Regions from separate parts of the Homo sapiens genome. Here all the other regions are linked to region 3. The links are contacts of gene promoters, found by promoter capture Hi-C in blood cells and fetal thymus (Javierre and others, 2016). All regions are on one chromosome and are shown on one strand. The core of a region is centred on a gene start or on the middle of the fragment in contact, and the rest is flanking DNA. Distances in the headings are between cores, read along the strand shown. Region 1 overlaps NACA (nascent polypeptide associated complex subunit alpha). Region 2 overlaps HSD17B6 (hydroxysteroid 17-beta dehydrogenase 6). Region 3 holds the start of SDR9C7 (short chain dehydrogenase/reductase family 9C member 7). Region 4 has its middle 41 kb from the start of HSD17B6. Region 5 overlaps HSD17B6 (hydroxysteroid 17-beta dehydrogenase 6).

What was found. Contacts are between HindIII fragments. The CHiCAGO score rates a contact against its expected background, and 5 or more counts as called.
Region 1: a contact is called between a fragment that was not itself captured here and the fragment with the promoter of SDR9C7 in region 3, in 1 of 17 cell types (M1 macrophages). The highest score is 5.1, in M1 macrophages.
Region 2: a fragment that was not itself captured here is called in contact with the fragment with the promoter of SDR9C7 in region 3 in 9 of 17 cell types (erythroblasts, M2 macrophages, M1 macrophages and 6 more); the score reaches 9.3 in erythroblasts.
Region 4: a contact is called between a fragment that was not itself captured here and the fragment with the promoter of SDR9C7 in region 3, in 10 of 17 cell types (M1 macrophages, endothelial precursors, total B cells and 7 more). The highest score is 8.0, in M1 macrophages.
Region 5: a contact is called between a fragment that was not itself captured here and the fragment with the promoter of SDR9C7 in region 3, in 4 of 17 cell types (endothelial precursors, total CD8 T cells, M2 macrophages and 1 more). The highest score is 7.6, in endothelial precursors.

What each region holds. Positions count from the first base shown.
Region 1 is chr12:56,718,989-56,722,614 of GRCh38, reverse strand. NACA (nascent polypeptide associated complex subunit alpha) reads left to right here. Exons shown (of 9, transcript NM_001365896.1): 3 at 1,156-3,626. Among named protein-coding and RNA genes, the nearest start is that of NACA, 4.5 kb to the left of the region's middle. RefSeq lists an enhancer at 1,680-1,799. The HindIII fragment of the contact is 4,291 bases long and covers 1-3,584 here.
Region 2 is chr12:56,768,864-56,772,574 of GRCh38, reverse strand. All of the region lies in intron 1 of HSD17B6 (hydroxysteroid 17-beta dehydrogenase 6), which reads right to left. Among named protein-coding and RNA genes, the nearest start is that of HSD17B6, 7.4 kb to the right of the region's middle. The HindIII fragment of the contact is 2,222 bases long and covers 415-2,636 here.
Region 3 is chr12:56,931,835-56,935,685 of GRCh38, reverse strand. SDR9C7 (short chain dehydrogenase/reductase family 9C member 7) reads left to right here and starts at 1,278. Exons shown (of 4, transcript NM_148897.3): 1 at 1,278-1,725. The coding sequence starts at 1,425. The HindIII fragment of the contact is 2,217 bases long and covers 679-2,895 here.
Region 4 is chr12:56,802,542-56,806,225 of GRCh38, reverse strand. No RefSeq gene overlaps it. Among named protein-coding and RNA genes, the nearest start is that of HSD17B6, 41 kb to the right of the region's middle. RefSeq lists an enhancer at 907-1,556. The HindIII fragment of the contact is 4,063 bases long and covers 399-3,684 here.
Region 5 is chr12:56,786,276-56,789,669 of GRCh38, reverse strand. HSD17B6 (hydroxysteroid 17-beta dehydrogenase 6) reads right to left here. Exons shown (of 5, transcript NM_003725.4): 5 at 1,880-2,545. The coding sequence ends at 2,328. Among named protein-coding and RNA genes, the nearest start is that of HSD17B6, 25 kb to the right of the region's middle. The HindIII fragment of the contact is 404 bases long and covers 1,756-2,159 here.

The DNA of each region.
Region 1 (3,626 bases), core at 190-2,689, 210 kb after region 3:
CTGGGTTCAAGCCATTCTCCTGCCTCTGCCTCCTGAGTAGCTGGTATTACAGGTGTACACCACCACGCCCAGCTAATTTTTGTATTTTTAGTAGAGACGGGGTTTCACCATGTTGGTCAGGTCGGTCTGGAACTCCTGACCTCGTGATCCGCCCTCCCAGGCATCCCGAAGTGCTGGGATTACAGGCATGAGCCACTGTTACAGGCTCTCCAATTCTCTTCTTCCAAAATAGCACCACAATCTGGTTTAACAAGTTAGGTTACAGTTTCATAATACAGTCCCTACCCTTGTGAGTAAGCTCTCTGCCTGGAGGTCTAATTCATGTCTAATTCATCTTGGATTGATGTCTGAAGAATTAACATCACCTAGGAAGGTTTATAGAGACTATTACAGTCCTTTTGTGGTTGGTTTTCTTGTTTGGGTTTTGTGAGTAAGTAAACTGGTAAGGTATAAAGAAGCTAAGTGACTTTAATACTTGATATTAAATTCTGAAGTGTTTCAACTTTAGGAAGAACTGAATTGTGCTGTGCACCTCCTTCCCAAAACTATTCTAACAGAGTCAGATGTTTCCTAGCCTAGTGGAAGCCTGAAAGTATAAAAGCCTGTGTTTTCTTATTCAGTTCAGATTCCCCATCATCGTCACTGCTCACTAACTTCTTTGTTCCAGTTTTCAGTATCTTTTCTGTTCATGATATTTGGGTGGACAGAGTAGCACAGCTGTTCTTCTCGTGGGAATTCTGTTGGCTGTGAGAAAGACTTGGGAATACAGTCCATTTCAAGAAGTAAGGGGAGGGCACAACTGGGAAAGGATAGAAAGCATGTTGTTCTCAACCTACCAAGAGTCTGTGCTCCCCATTTAGAGATAGGCTGCTCTTAGACTGTTCTCCTCACCCTAAAATAGTTGGTTTACTTTGGTAGAACTTGGGGAAGTGTGAGAAATTAGGAGGGGAATGTCTTCTCACTTGACCACTGAAAAATGTTTGGGGAAGGTTGTTGTTGCCTGTCACCTTTATCTAATCCTGCGTGGTGACTTAGACTGTCAGATTTTAAACTCCAGTGTTTCCTAGGAGGCATGTTGTACCAAGTTGGGCTGCATAACTCACCTTTTTTCTCCTCCCCCTCCCCCTTTCTTTATCTCCTTTTGCCTTTCTCCAGCTGTGCTACCTATGTCTTCAGCCTTGAGTGTCACTGCTGCCTTAGGGCAGCCTGGACCTACCCTCCCCCCTCCTTGCTCTCCTGCCCCACAACAGTGCCCTCTCTCAGCTGCTAACCAGGCTTCCCCATTCCCTTCCCCCTCTACTATTGCCTCGACCCCTTTAGAAGTTCCTTTTCCCCAGTCATCCTCTGGAACAGCCCTACCTTTGGGAACTGCCCCTGAAGCCCCAACCTTCCTACCAAACCTAATAGGGCCTCCCATCTCCCCAGCTGCCTTAGCTCTAGCCTCTCCCATGATAGCTCCAACTCTGAAAGGGACCCCTTCCTCTTCAGCTCCCTTAGCTCTGGTTGCCCTGGCTCCCCACTCAGTTCAGAAGAGTTCTGCTTTTCCACCTAACCTTCTTACTTCACCTCCTTCAGTGGCTGTAGCTGAGTCAGGGTCAGTGATAACTCTGTCAGCTCCCATTGCTCCCTCAGAACCAAAGACTAATCTTAATAAAGTTCCCTCTGAGGTAGTCCCTAATCCAAAAGGCACCCCCAGCCCTCCATGTATAGTCAGTACTGTTCCTTACCACTGTGTGACTCCCATGGCCTCTATTCAATCTGGAGTGGCCTCCCTTCCTCAGACAACACCCACAACTACCCTAGCCATCGCTTCCCCTCAAGTCAAAGATACCACCATTTCCTCAGTTCTGATTTCTCCACAAAACCCAGGAAGCCTCAGCCTGAAGGGGCCTGTTAGTCCACCTGCTGCCTTATCTCTTTCAACTCAGTCTCTTCCTGTGGTGACCTCTTCTCAAAAGACTGCGGGTCCCAACACCCCCCCAGATTTTCCCATTTCTCTGGGCTCTCATCTTGCACCTTTACATCAGAGTTCTTTTGGTTCTGTCCAACTTTTAGGTCAAACAGGTCCTAGTGCTTTGTCAGACCCTACAGTGAAGACCATTTCTGTAGATCATTCTTCCACAGGGGCCTCTTATCCTTCTCAGAGATCTGTAATTCCTCCCCTTCCTTCCAGAAATGAGGTAGTTCCTGCTACTGTGGCTGCCTTTCCAGTGGTGGCTCCATCTGTTGACAAAGGTCCCTCTACCATCTCTAGCATAACCTGCAGCCCTTCTGGCTCCTTAAATGTAGCTACCTCTTTTTCATTATCTCCTACAACCTCTCTCATTCTCAAAAGCTCTCCTAATGCCACTTATCATTATCCTTTAGTGGCCCAAATGCCCGTTTCTTCTGTTGGAACCACCCCACTTGTGGTGACTAACCCCTGTACAATTGCTGCAGCACCTACTACTACCTTTGAGGTAGCTACTTGTGTTTCTCCTCCAATGTCATCAGGTCCCATAAGTAACATAGAACCAACTTCCCCTGCTGCCTTGGTTATGGCACCTGTGGCTCCCAAAGAGCCTTCTACTCAAGTAGCAACCACTCTGAGGATACCAGTCTCTCCTCCTCTGCCAGACCCTGAAGACCTCAAAAATCTCCCCAGTTCAGTATTGGTTAAATTTCCAACACAAAAAGACCTCCAAACTGTACCTGCCTCTCTTGAAGGAGCCCCTTTCTCTCCAGCCCAAGCAGGACTCACCACCAAGAAAGACCCTACTGTATTACCGTTAGTCCAGGCAGCCCCTAAAAATTCCCCTTCTTTCCAAAGTACATCCTCTTCTCCAGAGATACCTCTTTCTCCTGAAGCCACCCTAGCAAAGAAAAGCCTTGGGGAGCCTCTCCCTATAGGTAAGCCAGCCAGCAGTATGACCTCCCCTCTGGGTGTTAACTCCTCGGCCTCTGTAATCAAGACAGATTCTTATGCAGGCCCAGACTCTGCTGGTCCGCTTCTCAAAAGTTCTCTCATTACCCCAACAGTGGCTGCATTTCCTTTGGAAAGTGCTGACCCTGCCGGGGTGGCTCCCACAACTGCCAAAGGTACCTCAACTTATACAACTACAGCCAGCCCTTTTCTAGAAGGAACTGTCTCTTTAGCTCCTAAAAACCACCCAGTTAAGGAAGGTACTCTTACTACTTTACCCTTGGTTCCTACAGCTTCAGAAAATTGCCCTGTGGCTCCATCCCCCCAGAATACCTGTGCTCCTCTGGCTACCTTAGTGCTGGCCCCTGAAATCCCAAAGTCTGTGCCCTCACCCTCTCTTCCCCCAGCTGGGACTCCTCCAGGTACAAAAAAGGTTGATGGTATTTCTCATACTTCAGCATTGGCACCTGTTGCTTCCTCTCCCAAAGAGTGCCCAACTGAGGACTCTGGTGCTTCTGCTACTGCATCTTCCAAAGGAACTCTGACTTACCTAGCTGATTCCCCATCTCCTTTAGGGGTTAGTGTGTCTCCTCAGACTAAAAGACCTCCAACCAAGAAGGGTTCTGCTGGCCCTGATACTCCTATTGGAAATCTCTCATCCCCTGTTTCTCCAGTTGAAGCTTCATTTCTTCCAGAGAATAGTCTTTCTTTCCAAGGCTCTAAA
Region 2 (3,711 bases), core at 276-2,775, 160 kb after region 3:
ACAGGCACGTGCCACCAAGCCGGGCTAATTTTGTATTTTTAGTAGGGAGAGAGTTTTTTACCATGTTGGCCAGGCTAGTCGTGAACTCCTGACCTCAGGTGATCCACCCACCTTGGCCTCCCAAAATGCTGGGATTACAGGCATGAGCCACCACACCCAGCCATAACACTCATCTTTTAAGTCTCAGCCTAATCATCACTTTCATTCAGCAAACATTAATTCAACAACTACTTGAGTCAGACACAGTGTTAGGCACTGATACACAAGAGTGAACAATACATAGTCCATTTTTCATTGAATTCACAGTCTCATTATGAAGACTGACAACAATGCATTATAACAGAAGTAAAAACAGGAGGCTGCTGGAACACTCAGGAGAGGCTTCTAAGGCAGTTTAGAGAGGTCTGAGAAGCTTCCTAGAGAGAATAAAATATAAGTTGAGATCTACAGGTGTACTAGTCCGTTTTCACACAGCTATAAAGATACCACCCGAGACTGGGTAATTTATAAAGAAAAGAGGTTTAATTGATTCACAGTTCCACATGGCTGGGGAGGTCTCAGGAAAATTACAATCATGGTAGAAGGGGAAGCAAACACATGATGGCAGGAAAGCAAAAGCAAGCAAGAGAGGAACTACCAAACGCTTATAAAACCATCAGCTCTCATGAGAACTCAACATGGGGGAAACCACCCCCATGATCCAATCACCTCCCACCAGGTTCCTCCCTAAACACCTAGGAATTACAATTCAAGATATGATTTGGGTAGCGACACAAAGCCAAACCATATCAAAAGGATAATTAAAAAATAATAGCTAGGCCAGGCACACTGGCACATGCCTGTAATCTCAGCATGTTGGGAGGCCAAGGCAGGCAGATCACCTGAGGTCAGGAGTTTGAGATCAGCCTGGTCAACATGGCGAAACCGCATCTCTACAAAAATACAAAAATTAGCCAGGCATGATTGTGGGCGCCTGTAATCCCAGCTACTTGGGAGGCTGAGGCAGGAGAATCGCTTGAACCCGGGAGGTGGAGGTTGCAGTGAGCCGAGATCATGCCATTGCATTCCAGCCTGGGTGACAGAGCGAGATTCTGCCCATCTCAAAAAAAAAAAAAAAAAAAAAAAATTGCAACCCTTGCCGAGCACTTGCTGTGTATCAGGCTCTGTTCTAAGATGTCACATATATTAACTTTTTGAATTCTCACAAGAACCCTACAAGACAGGTCCCATCATTATTCCTCTGTGTCAGTTCAGATACCAAGACAAAATTAGACATGCAAGAGATTATGGGGGAAACACCCTCAGAGGACAAAGGGGGAAGGCACAGGAATAGGTGGTAATGCAGATCTGACACCTCGGGAAGGAGAGGGGAACAGAAGGAGGAGAAGATAGGAAGAGCTTTAGACTGTAGTAGAGCCCCAAGAAAGTCTCAGCCAGGCCCATGAGCCTGAGCAAAGACTGCCACTGGAGAAGTTCCACACTGGGCTGAACTGGTCCAGCTCCAGTACTGCCATCCTTCTGGTCATTGGCTGACCAGTGCCCAAGAGGAGCGTGCCTCAGTGTAAATACCACAGCAGATCGGAGGGTGCCACAACTGGAGGCTGGAAGTCAACCTCACTCCTCATAGCAGATTTTCTTGAGTGATCTGAGCAATGCACCTCAATGGCTGCCACACTGTTTCATAGGTGAGCACTGAGAGATTACATACAGTACTAGACAGAGGGGACAAAAAATGGTCCAGGCAAGAGACTTTCCTGCCCTGATTTAACCTGCCCCATGGTCTAACAGAATTGACTATACCCTCCTTAGTGTCCCCATTGTGGCCTGGGTTTATCATGATGCCTGCTGTACTTCATTGCACTGCTCTTCCCCATTTTTAGACTATAAGGCCCTTGAGAGCCCAGGTTACATATTAGTCTGCACCTGGCCCAGTGAATGGCACATAGCAGATACTTAATAAATGTTAGATAAATTAAGTTATACTAAGTAAAAATATCCTGATAAAAAATTGAGAGAAAAAAAGCAGGGAGAATGAGCCAGAGAAGTAGGAAAAAGCAAGCTGATGAAAGCCAAGGAAAGGGGGGCTTAATGAGGATCAGCAATGCAACCAGGAGGTCTGCTGGGTAATAGGAGGGCACTGGTGCTCTTAACGGGAAGACTCAGACAGTGAAGGGCACAGAAGCCAATCTTCAGTGGGCTGCTGCATGAATTGGAGGGCAGGAAGTGGAGCCGAGTGGAGACTCTTTTTCAAAAGCCTGGTCTGGGAAGGAGAGGAGAGAAGGCAGTAAGTAGCGAGAGGGCAACTTAGGGTGTAGGCAAGTAAAGTGGAAGGAGACAGTGAAAGGGAGAAAACAGTGGAGAGAGGCATATATTGCTCCTCCCTCCCCCACCATCTTCTCTTTCTCTCCTTTTCCCCTCTTCCCTCTGTCTCTCTCCTTCCTTCTCTGAAGCCCTTTGCCTCTCTCCAATCTGAGAGCTCTGTGTTCTCTAGCCAGCTGCCTCTGTTCTGCCTAAGTGGCATTCCCTGGTGCACTACAGTAACACAGAGAGCTTCAACCTGACTGTTTATTGACTAAAAGGTAATTTTCTGTTGCCAGTCAAAGATGAAAACGTATTTCCCCCATTAGAGAGAAGCTTGGCCCTCACAGTTTCCCCGGGCATTACTATTCAGCCATCGCATGCCTAGCAGCAAGAAGACCTGCAGAAGAGATACACCTGGCGGAATCCCAAACCCTAGGCCAAACCTGAATGTGCCTCGAATATTTCAAATGTCCAAATACCCGAAGTGGCGTGGCCTGCTTGCTTTTACAAACCATTCATCTGCAAAAGCTGTGCAATTACTTTACGTTTTTGCCTTTGACTCAAATTATTTATACACAGTACTTAAGCTGCTATTTCTTGATTTACCAATTTTTGACATTCTCAATTAACTTCCTGCTATGGTAAATAAGAATTCAGCTTTCTTACATCATATTGTCAGTCTCTTCCTTTCTCATCTACACTATGCTATCTGGTTAATTTTATTTAATGAGTTTTGAGGTCGAGCCTAGAAAACACCTTCATAATCACACATGCATAGGTTAAGAACTTCCACTGTTTATTTCAGGTCTGATCCCCATCTTGGGCTTCATCATTGCTTGAAGCTACTCTCCCACAAAGATCTTGAAAAGCTAGGCCAGGCACGGTGGCTCACGCCTGTAATCCCAGCACTTTGGGAAGCTGAGGCAGGCAGATCACCTGAGGTCAGGAGTTCGAGACCAGCCTGGGCAACATGACTAAGCCCCATCTCTACTAAAAATACAAAAATTAGCTGAGTGTGGTGGCAGTGCCTGTAGTCCCAGCTACTTGGGAGGCGGAGGCACAAGAATCGCTTAAACCTGGGAGGCAGAGGTTGCAGTAAGCCAAGATCACGCCACTGCACTCCAGCTTAAGTGACAGAGTGAGACTCTGCCTCAAAAAAAAAAAAAAAAACCTTGAAAAGCTGAAACTGCCCTCTCTGCACAGCCCCATCCTATCTTTGGGGCTCTTCCCCTCCCCCCACTCCCCTCTACTTCTTTCTTCCTGCTCTGCCTTCCTTTTCCTCAGTCTCTCTCTATTACTGCAATCCTCTCACAGTTTCATTTGCCTCCTTATTCAGCACAGGTCTCATAGTTGGCCATTTTAGGGGTGCTTCACTAGCACCCCAAAGCCTTTACCATCCATGTTCTCTAG
Region 3 (3,851 bases), core at 29-2,528:
TTTAGGTCTGCTCTTTGGGGGTGGGTTCATAATCTGGCCCCCTCCCCTACTTTGTTAAGGAACGGCCAAACCCTGCGGGGCTTTCCCAGGGTGACACCTGCTTTATGTGATTCCACGCTGGTCAGACTTGGCAAATGGTGGATCACAGAGATACATCCTTTGTCCCTTCACACTAGAGAACTTTGTGGTCCCATTTCTGTGTCAGACTCGCTAAGCCATGAAGGTGTGAGCTAGGACCAGGCTCATCCCAAGGAATGGTGACCCTAGATGTTGATCCAAAGAACCACAGAGGCTCCAGCATCATTCCCTGCATCTTATGCAATTCTGGGTGTGGCCCCTCACTACTCACACCTCTGGTTTCCTTATTTCCTTTCCTTTACCACCTTACCTCTTAGCTTTCTGTAAATTATTTGCTAAATTGCCTAGAATCTCTGTTTCTCCTCCAAGTCCCGACCCTGAGAATTTTCTATGTCTCTGGCCCCAGTTCTCTGCTCCTCCTATATCTCATCCCCTCTTACAGTCAAGGCCTCTGCCCAGACAATTCCCTCAGCTGCCCAGTGAACTCATGATCCCTCCTCATCATCTTGCCCAGGGCTGCTTACTGGTGACCTGAGTATGACCCCCACAGGGTGTCAGGCCTGAGTCCCCCAGGTCTTTCTGCTTTCTGGTGGCTAAGCTTCACATGCCAGCCTCCCCTATAGGAGGGCCCTGCTGCCTCTAGCCTCAGGACAATGGAGGTACATCCACCCTAGGAGAAATCCATTGCTTTTCATCCTCTCTCATGATGGAGACTTACCTAAGAATTCCAGAGAGCTGATGACCTGCGACTTGTTTCTCTTGGGGTTTGGAAGGTACAGAACCAATGTTGTTTGTTTTACATTAATAAATTTGTCTTGAGTATTTTCCCTGAAAATAAACTTATTTACATACCTGCACTCACGACAAATGATTTTGATCCCTGGAGACCAAAATCCCCAGGCTGGGTTGGGGGCAGGGTGGGGACAGGATTTCTAGGGGAGCTGTCTGGGGTGAGTCCTCATCTTTCATTTGCCTGCCTTACACCGCCTGGGTGAGCCACCACTCATCACCAACATTACAAGTGGATTATTTCCAATTCTTGGCAGCTTTACCCATCAGGGCAGGGGGAGAGAGGGAGGCAGCTACCAGGGCTGTCAGAGGTGACAAGGCTTCAGGTTGGACTTGAATTTCTTGCATCTGGGCTAATTGCTGTGGTGATGCATCCACCTATAAAAATTACAGCGTGGCTCACCCAGGGACCTAGATTTGTTGCAAGCTGTGGGAGGAAGGAGAGTTCTTCTTCCAGGTGGTTTCCTGCAGACTGCCTGCTAGGGCTCAGAGGACCAGCTTCTTCCCTGCTGTCTCCTGAGCCCAGTCCCTCTTGGCCATCACATTCCCCTTGCCCTATGGCGGCCCTCACAGACCTCTCATTTATGTATCGCTGGTTCAAGAACTGCAATCTGGTTGGCAACCTCTCAGAGAAGTACGTCTTCATCACAGGCTGTGACTCTGGCTTCGGGAACCTGCTGGCCAAACAGCTGGTTGATCGGGGCATGCAGGTGCTGGCTGCTTGCTTCACTGAGGAGGGATCCCAGAAACTTCAGCGGGATACCTCCTATCGGCTGCAGACCACCCTACTGGATGTCACCAAGAGCGAAAGCATCAAGGCGGCGGCCCAGTGGGTGAGGGACAAAGTGGGCGAACAAGGTGGGGCGAATTACATTCTTTGGCTTTCTTGGTTTCTCCTTCTTCCTCTTCCTCTCTCCCGAAGCATCTGACAGTATCAGAGACCCTGATGTCCAGATTGGGTGGGAGGGGTGATGTAGGGAAAGGCCCCTGCCTCAATCTGATTGGAAGCCACTGCATGGTTTGGCCTGTTCACATGAAGGGGTGATTTCCCAAGGAAGTTTTCTGTCCTGGAAACTCAGAGAAACGGGAAAGAGGTCTCAATAGGAAGCGAGGGGGGAAGATGTGTTCTGTGTGTCCAAACCTCTAAAAATGGACGTGCCTGGCTGGGCGTGGTGGCTCACGCCTATGAGCCCAGCACTTTGGAAGGCCGAAGTGGGAGGATCATGAGGTCAAGAGATCGAGACCATCCCGGCCAACATGGTGAAACCCCATCTCTACTAAAAAGTATAAAAATTACCTGGGTGTGGTGGCACGTGCCTGTAGTCCCAGCTACTCAGGAGGCTGAGGCAGGAGAATCACTTGAACCCGGGAGGCGGAGGTTGCAGTGAGCCAAGATTGCGCCACTGCACTCCAGCCTCGTGACAGAGCAAGAATCCCTCTCAAAAAGAAAAAAAAGAAAAAAAAAGGATGTGCCTCTCTGATGTTTCAGCAGTCCTAACCATCAGCTCCTGGGGAAATACAAACACATTTCTTGTTGGGATCAGGATGGGGGAGGGGGAATGAGACAGGAGGCTGGATCCCATGAGTGGGTGCAGTTTGTCTCCTTGACTATGTCAGGCAGGGGAGAAAGAGATCTGGTCTCTTCTTGACATCATGGTGGGTGTTGATTTGACTTCAGGGCAAGTATGTATGTCACAGTGGCTGCTCCTATTGGGAAAGGAAGCTGTGGACTGGGGCTGGCCCAGGACTGTGTGGGGACCTGCCTCATGCACTTCCAGCACACAGGGTGTGGGCCCAGGAACAGGAGGAACAGGATGGCTGAGTTGCAGAAGCAGCAGACTAGAGGAAGTCCTCCCTCCTAAAGGAACTAGTCTGGAGCCCATGCGCAGGTCAGGGCAACAGAGCCCTGGAGCCAGGGGGATCTAGACAGTAACTCCCTGCTTGATTCTTCTCCTTAGCACTTATCACTAGTCAATGTACAATAGATTTTACTTATTTATTGTCTGTTTCCTCTGCTAGAATAAAGCTTCCTGGGGACAAGGATTTTTGTCCCTTTTATTTACTGTACATCCTTAGTACCTAGAATAATGTCTGGCACCTAGTAAGGTACTGAATAAATAGATTTGAGTGAGCTAATTAATTAATAATTCAGCAAGAGTGAGCCTCTGTCTTCAGCAGGCTGTCTCAGCCAGTTCCCTACATTCAGCCTTGAGCCACTTGCCTTAATACCTCACTTAGCATGTGAGTTTCCTGTTGCTATTGTAACAAATAACACAACTGTGGGGTCTGAAGACAATACAAACATATTATCTTGTAGTTGTGGAGGAGTAATGTCTAAAATAGGCCTCACTGATCTAAAATCAAAGTCAGCAGAGCTGTGTTCCTTCTAGAGGCTGTAGAGGAGAATCCGTCTCATCGACTTTTCCAGCTTCCAGAGGCAGCTGGCATCCCCTGGCTCCTGGCCTGCTACCTCCATCTTCAAGGCCCGCAAGGTTGGGCCCAGTCTTTTTCACACTTTTCTCAAGCTCTCTGATTCTCCGGTTTCTGCCTCTTTCCACTTAGGACTTGTGATTATATTGGGCTCACCAGGTTAATCCAGGATAATTTCCCGTGTTAGCTTCCTCCCTAACTTTAAGGACAATTAATTAGCAACCTCCATTCCACCTGCAACCTTAATTCCCCTTTCCCATGTAATCCAGCAGATTCACAGGTTCCAGAGATAATGAGGATGGGGACATCTTTGGGGGACCATTATTTTGCCTAAGCCACTTGGCAATATCCTGGTCTAAGAAACACTGGGAACTGGGGTGGGTAGGGGGATGGGAGAGGAAGTTCTTTCATGCTTTCTCATTGCTCCTGAATGGAGAAAGGCAGGGAGACTGGGTAGGGGCATGGCTTGGGTGGGGACCCCAGCCCTAGAGGGAGGGGTGGACTAGGATTTATGTTTGTGTTGAGACCTGCCCTCAGGAGACAGTGGGATGCGC
Region 4 (3,684 bases), core at 1,181-3,680, 130 kb after region 3:
TGAATACAGGAAGCTTTTTCTTGCAACAGGTTAGCTTTTTTTCCTTTCAGGAGGCACCTTATTAGGCCAGGTCCCCAATTCCTGGGACTCCCATTCTCTCCCTTGTTTGAGGAGGAACTGGTCCCACAGCTTCACCTGCTTATGATAGGGAGGCAACAGAGGAGCAGCCCCAGCCAGTTGCTAGCTGCAATTTGGTGAGGGCTGCCTGGGACTAATTTAATGGGCCCATACACCCTCTTGAGGCACCTTTTTGTCCCAAGGTTTCTGATAATTTTGGAGATTGTGAACAGGAGTTTCTTTGAGTGAACGGAACTAACAGAAGACTGAAGTAATCTTTTTTGACATTTTGCTTGAACCATTGATGATCCTTCGTTTTGTTTTTCAGAATCAAGGAAGCTTTCCTTTTGAGATATTTGTAGCTTTTGACAGTTGTGAGGGTGAACCAACCAGTGATCTCTGACTGCAGCTCAGAAGAAACAAAAAGGATGGGCCGTCAAACTCCAATGGTCATGCAAATGGAGCCTCGGACAATGGCTCCCTTTTACTGGAGACCCTTATATAGGCCCCTGAGAGAAAACCTGACTGCCATTTTCCCAAAAACAATGCCCCCTGTCAGCATGAAGCAGTTAAGAATGGTCACTGTCCCTATCCTAACGGCAGTTAGATGTACCTCTACAGAGTGGTGATTGATGGCAGTGGTGGGCCATCTAGAGTGGCCGCTGCCATCACACAGGCTGCAGCAGGGAGGTACAGCCAGAGCTGTATACTCCATGCAGCTGGTGGGAGCCTCAGACAAGTGGGAGCCCTGCCCCTTCTGATTTGTTAGGGTGGGAGCTCCCCAGGTGCAGACACAAGTCTGCCCAAGTTATGGCTGCAAACTGGGCCTCCCAAAGCACAGAGCAAGAAGAAGCCCCACCCCCTGGGGCACAGGTTAAGCTGCCCAAGTCATGGCTGCAGACCCAGGCCTCCCTGTGCTCTTGGGGGTGCTGGGAGCAGGGAGGAGCCCTGTCCTCCTAGGCGTGGCTGCAGCCACCCAAGTCGTGACTGCAGAGCATGACCTCCCACTCCACAGAGCAGGACCCCCACCCCCTGGATGCAGCTGCAGACACCCAAACTGTGGCTGTGAACCCAGGCATCCCTGCACTCTTGGAGACCCAGGATGGTCCTCTCCCCCTGCCCTCACAGGCTTGGAAGTGCCTGCTCCTGCCGCCTGGCTTCTCCCTGCTGTCGGTACCCACTCCGATCTAAGAGCAAAGTCATGGTCAAGCCTGAGCTCTGTCACAGCCCAGCCAGGTGTGTACATGCTCAGGGAAGTGTTGACACACCAGCCCCCTGCCACTTCAGCCCGCCTCTGGACCTTGGGTGCCAAAGAGCACAGGAGGGAAGCTGAGGGGGTGATAAGGGCAGTTTGGCACTGGCCTGCAGGTGCCCCTTGGCACGTACAGCCTGGGTGCCATGAATGGCAGCAGGAGGCAGACAGGTTCCTGGGGGGAAGGGAGTGGGTCCCACGTGAGGCCCCACCTTCAGGCCAGGGAGGGCCTGAAGGCTGGGGGCCAGGCTGCTGCTCCCATAGACTGCAGTGGAAACTTGTGGTGTCTTTTCCAGGCCCATCCATGGCTGCCCATGGAACAATCAGTGCTCACCTCCTCCCCTCTGAGGCCCATAAAAGCCCTGGGTTCAGCCAGAGCTGAGCAGATGTTGGGATGACCTGCCTGCAGACAAAAGCTACTCTCTCTGCTGATACCTGAACACTTGTCAGGATGAATTGCCTAGCAGAGAGGAGCTACCCTCTCTGCTAGGAGCTGAACACTCATCAAGACACCCTGGCTGCAGAAAGTAGCTGCCCCCTGCAGGTTTCCTCTGAGCTGTTCTATCACTCAATAAAGCTCCCCTTCATCTTACTCACTCTCCTCTTTTCTGCCTACCTCATTCTTCCTGGTCACAGGACAAGAACTCAGGACCCACTGAATGGCAAGGATAAAAGAGCTGTAACACAAACAGGGCTGAGACATGCCCCTTGCTTGCCTCATTGTGGGCAAAGAGAAGAAAAGAAGAGCTGCAGCCCTTTGGGGAACCCAGACCTGGGAGTTCCCCAGACCAGGGCTGTGACTCCTATTTTGGGGCCCTGTGGTTCCTGGCATCTCCGAGCTTCTGGGTGCCAATGTGTCCTCCAGTGCCAGCCGTAGAAGCTGCTTGCAGTGTGCCTGGTCTAGCTGCAGCCTCACAGAGAGCCAGAGCCCATGCCAGCACCTGGAGCTGCCCGGCCCACTGCGGCAGCTGGTACGTCTGACTGTGCACAGTGGCCGGATCCCACACTCACTCACACACTCCTCACTGTTCCATGCCTGACTCACCCTTGGCAGGCATGGGTCCCAGGCCAGTAGGGTGAGCCAAACACAGCCTGCCAGGCTGAGTAGGTGAAACAAGCCCAGTGGGCCCGAGCAAAACTCGGGCACAGGGGCCACCAGCCACAGAGGTTCCTGGCTAGAAAAACAACACCCCAAAGATCCCATAATACAATGAGATACCATCTCACACCAGTCAGAATGACTATTATTAAAAAGTCAAAAAATACCAGATGCTGGCGAGGTTGCCAAGAAAAAGGAATGCTTATACACTGCTGGTTGGAATGTAAATTAGCTCAACCATCGTGGAAAACAGTAAGGCAATTCCTCAAAGAACTGAATTCAGAACTACCATTCAACCCAGCAATCTCATTACTGGGTATATACCCAGAGGAATATAAATCATTCCACCATAAAGACACATGCACATTAATGTTCACTGCAGCACTACTCACAATAGCAAAGACATGGATTCCACCTAAATACCCATCAATGGTGGACTGGATAAAGAAAATGTGGTACATATACACCATGAAATTCTATGCAGCTGTAAAAAAGAACGAGATGATGTCCTTTGCAGGAACATGAATGAAGCTGGAAGTCATTATCCCTAGCAAACTAACACAGGAACAGAAAACCAAATACTGCATGTTCTCACATATAAGTGGGAGCTAAATAATGAGAACACATGGGCACAAAGAGGGGAATAACAGACACTGGGGCCTGCTTGAGGGACGCAGGAGGGAGGAAGAAAGAGAATCAGGAAAAATAGCTATCAGGTACTATGCTTAGTGTACTTGGGTAACAAAATGGTCTGTACACCAAACACCCATGACATGCGTTTGCCTGTATTAACAAACCTGCACATGTACCCCAGCCTGAACTAAAATAAAAGTTAAAAGTAAGCTGGGCATGGTAGCTCATGCCTGTAATCCTAGCATTTTGGGAGGTCCAGGCAAGTTAATTGCTTGAGCCCAGGAATTTGGGGCCAGCCTAGGTAACATGGTGAAACCCCATCTCTACAAAAAATACAAAAAGTTGCCGGGTGTGGTGGTGTGTGCCTGTAGTTCCAACAACTTTGGGGGCTGAAGCAGGGGGATTGCTTGAACCTGGGAGGTCAAGGCTACAGTGAGCACTGAGCTGAGACTACACCACTGCACTCCAGTCTGGGTGACAAGATGAGACCCTGTCTCAAAAAAAAGAAAAGAAAAAAAGTTTAATTTTTAAAAAGTTAAAAATAAATAAATACATTTTAAAAATAATCTCTCCCTCACAAAGCATCAGAAAAACAGACTTTACACTTCACATAATTTTATATTTTCTGTGTTTGCTTCATTCA
Region 5 (3,394 bases), core at 708-3,207, 150 kb after region 3:
CCGCCCCGTCCGGGAGGTGAGGGGTGCCTCTGCCCGGCCGCCCCTACTGGGAAGTGAGGAGCCCCTCTGCCCGGCCAGCCGTCCCCTCCGGGAGGGAGGTGAGGGGGGTCAGCCCCCCGCCCGGCCAGCCGTCCCGTCCGGGAGGGAGGTGGGGGGGGTCAGCCCCCCCCCGCCCGGCCAGCCGCCCCGTCCGGGAGGGAGGAGGAGGGCTCAGCCCCCCGCCCGTCCAGCCGCCCCGTCCGGGAGGGAGGTGGGGGGGTCAGCCCCCCGCCCGGCCAGCCGTCCTGTCCGGGAGGGAGGTGGGGGGGGTTCAGCCCCCCGCCCGGCTGGCCGCCCCATCCGGGAGGGAGGTGGGGGGCTCAGCTCCCCGCCCGGCCAGCTGCCCCATCCGGGAGGTGAGGGGCACCTCTGCCCAGCCGCCCCTACTGGGAAGTGAGGAGCCCCTCTGCCCGGCCAGCCGCCCCGTCCGGGAGGGAGGTGGGGGGCTCAGCCCCCTGCCCGGCCAGCCGCCCCGTCCGGGAGGGAGGTGGGGGGCTCAGGCCCCCGCCTGGCCAGCCGCCCCGTCCAGGAGGGAGGTGGGGGGGTCAGCCCCCCGCCCGGCCGCCCCGTCCGGGAGGTGAGGGGCGCCTCTGCCCGGCCGCCCCTACTGGGAAGTGAGGAGCCCCTCTGCCCGGCCACCACCCCGTCTGGGAGGTGTACCCAACAGCTCATTGAGAACGGGCCATGATGACGATGGCGGTTTTGTGGAATAGAAAAGGGGGAAAGGTGGGGAAAAGATTGAGAAATCGGATGGTTGCCGTGTCTGTGTAGAAAGAAGTAGACATGGGAGACTTTTCATTTTGTTCTGTACTAAGAAAAATTCTTCTGCCTTGGGATCCTGTTGATCTATGACCTTACCCCCAACCCTGTGCTCTCTGAAACATGTGCTGTGTCCACTCAGGGTTAAATGGATTAAGGGCGGTGCAAGATGTGCTTTGTTAAACAGATGCTTGAAGGCAGCATGCTCGTTAAGAGTCATCACCACTCCCTAATCTCAAGTACCCAGGGACACAAACACTGCAGAAGGCCGCAGGGTCCTCTGCCTAGGAAAACCAGAGACCTTTGTTCACTTGTTTATCTGCTGACCTTCCCTCCACTATTGTCCTATGACCCTGCCAAATCCCCATCTGCGAGAAACACCCAAGAATGATCAATTAGAAAAAAAAAAAAAAAAGAAAGCAGTGAGAGGGAAATCTCCAGGGACAGGAGGGTTGGGGGGTTGAAATAGACTGAATAAGTCTATAATCTATTTAATTATTTAGAGAACACTACTGGTAGTGACAGATCTGAGAGAACAACCAAAAAAAGGTTAAGGTAAATAAAAACCTTTGCAAGCAAAAAAGCAAGGCAATAATTAACTCCAAGAAAAACAAAAAATGTTACTATAAAAGAAAAATACTTGATTAAATAGTTAATAATATTCACATACTTAATTATATAAACACTATTCATTTAACCAGAAATGTGATAAAATTATATTCAAACTATAAGGATAAAGGAAATGGGCAGGAAAGTGATGTAAAAAAAAGCCAAATTTGCACCATAACAGAAAGTCAATTGAGAATAGCTAAAATTAATAAAAAATAACAGTATATCATTTAGAAGTTCAGAGATAAATACCAGAAGAAATAGCTAAAAGTTGAGACCATTTGCCTCTGACGAGCAGCAATGAAGGATGAGGATAAGGGCAAGGATTGCCATTTTTCATTTTAAGCTTTTGAATATTAATTGAATTTTTAGCTATATATGTATAACATTATTTTGATTTAAAATTTAAAAAGTAATTTCTTTTTAAAAAAGGAAGAAATATATTGGGGAAAAAAGACTGCTGACAAAAAGAGAAGAGAAAGAAAAATCAAATATTTATTAAAAGTACCATAATACAGACCCATTTCAAGTAAGGACAAACACACCAACATATTTCTTAGTAGTTTCCTCACAATAGATTATTAAAGCATAGAACAATTATTCATATTCATAAAGAAATGACTTCAAAATAGGTTAAATTGTTTTCCATCTACTCTGTTTAATAAGGCAAGAACAAATGATTCACTTTAGACAAATAGTCTCATCAAAAAAGGGCTAAAATAGTAAAGATTCATCACCTAAAGTGGTAAGCTTTGGATATCTGAAATATAAACATGTTAGTACTCTGATGATGCCAGATAAATGAATTTAGGCAAGAAAACACATTGTTACAAAAAGCCTGGGTTCTAAATCAGGATTACTGAGACACTAACAATTTCAGATTTTTGCCTTCATTCCAAGAAGCACCAACCCAGTTTTCTTTAGACTGCCTGGGCTGGTTTGGGCCAAGATCTAGTCAAAATGTAGTCTGCCAGTGATGTAGGTAAATAAGATAGAGGGATGAAGAAAAATTTAGCATCCCAGCCAGCTGAATATCGAGTTCGCGGATGCACCGATGTCAGAGCATGTTCCATGCAGTCAGTGACCAGGTTCAGGTTTGTGCTACAATTCAACAGCCCTTCCTTCATGATATTGTAAACTGTATACAAAAAAAGAAATGGTGGTCAACAATCTTATTCCTTATATTTTTAAGATCATGCAGTCACAGAAGTCTCACCACATCTAATTTCTACAAAATAGAATGATCTAGAATGTGCATCCCAATATGATAGCCACTAGCCACATGTAGCTATTGAGCACTTAAACAATAGCTAATGCACTGGAATAAAAACTAAATTTTGGATTTTATTTAATTTTAATTTTAAAACTCAATCATTTTTCTTTTTTTGTTTGGTTGTTTTTTGGGGTTTCTTTTGAGACAGGGTCTTGCTCTGTCACCCAGGTTGGAGTGTAGTGGTACAATCTCAGCTCACTGCAACCTCTGCCTCCCAGGCTCGTGATCCTCCCTCCTCAGCTTCCCACATAGCTGGGACTACAGGTTCGCATCCCCATGCCCAGCTAATTTTGTTTATTTTTTGTAGACACAAGGTCTCACTATGTTGCCCAGGCTGGTCTTGAATTCCTGGGCTCAAGCGATCCTCCCACATCAGCCTCCCAAAGTGCTGGAATTATAGGTGTGAGGCACCACGCCTGGCCTCAAAACTCAATTCTGATGGCTGGGTGCAGTGGCTCATGCCTGTAATCCCAGCACTTTGGGAGGCCGAGGTGGGTGGATAATTTGGGGTCAGGAGTTCGAGACCGGCATGGCCAACATGGTGAAACCCCATGTCTACTAAAAATACAAAAATTAGCCAGGCTTGGTGGTGCATGCCTGTAGTCCCAGTTACTCAGGAAGCTGAGACAAGAGAATTGCTTGAACCCGGGAGGCAGAGGTTGCAGTGAGCCAAGATCACGCCACTGCACTCCAGCCTGGGTGACAGAGCGAGAC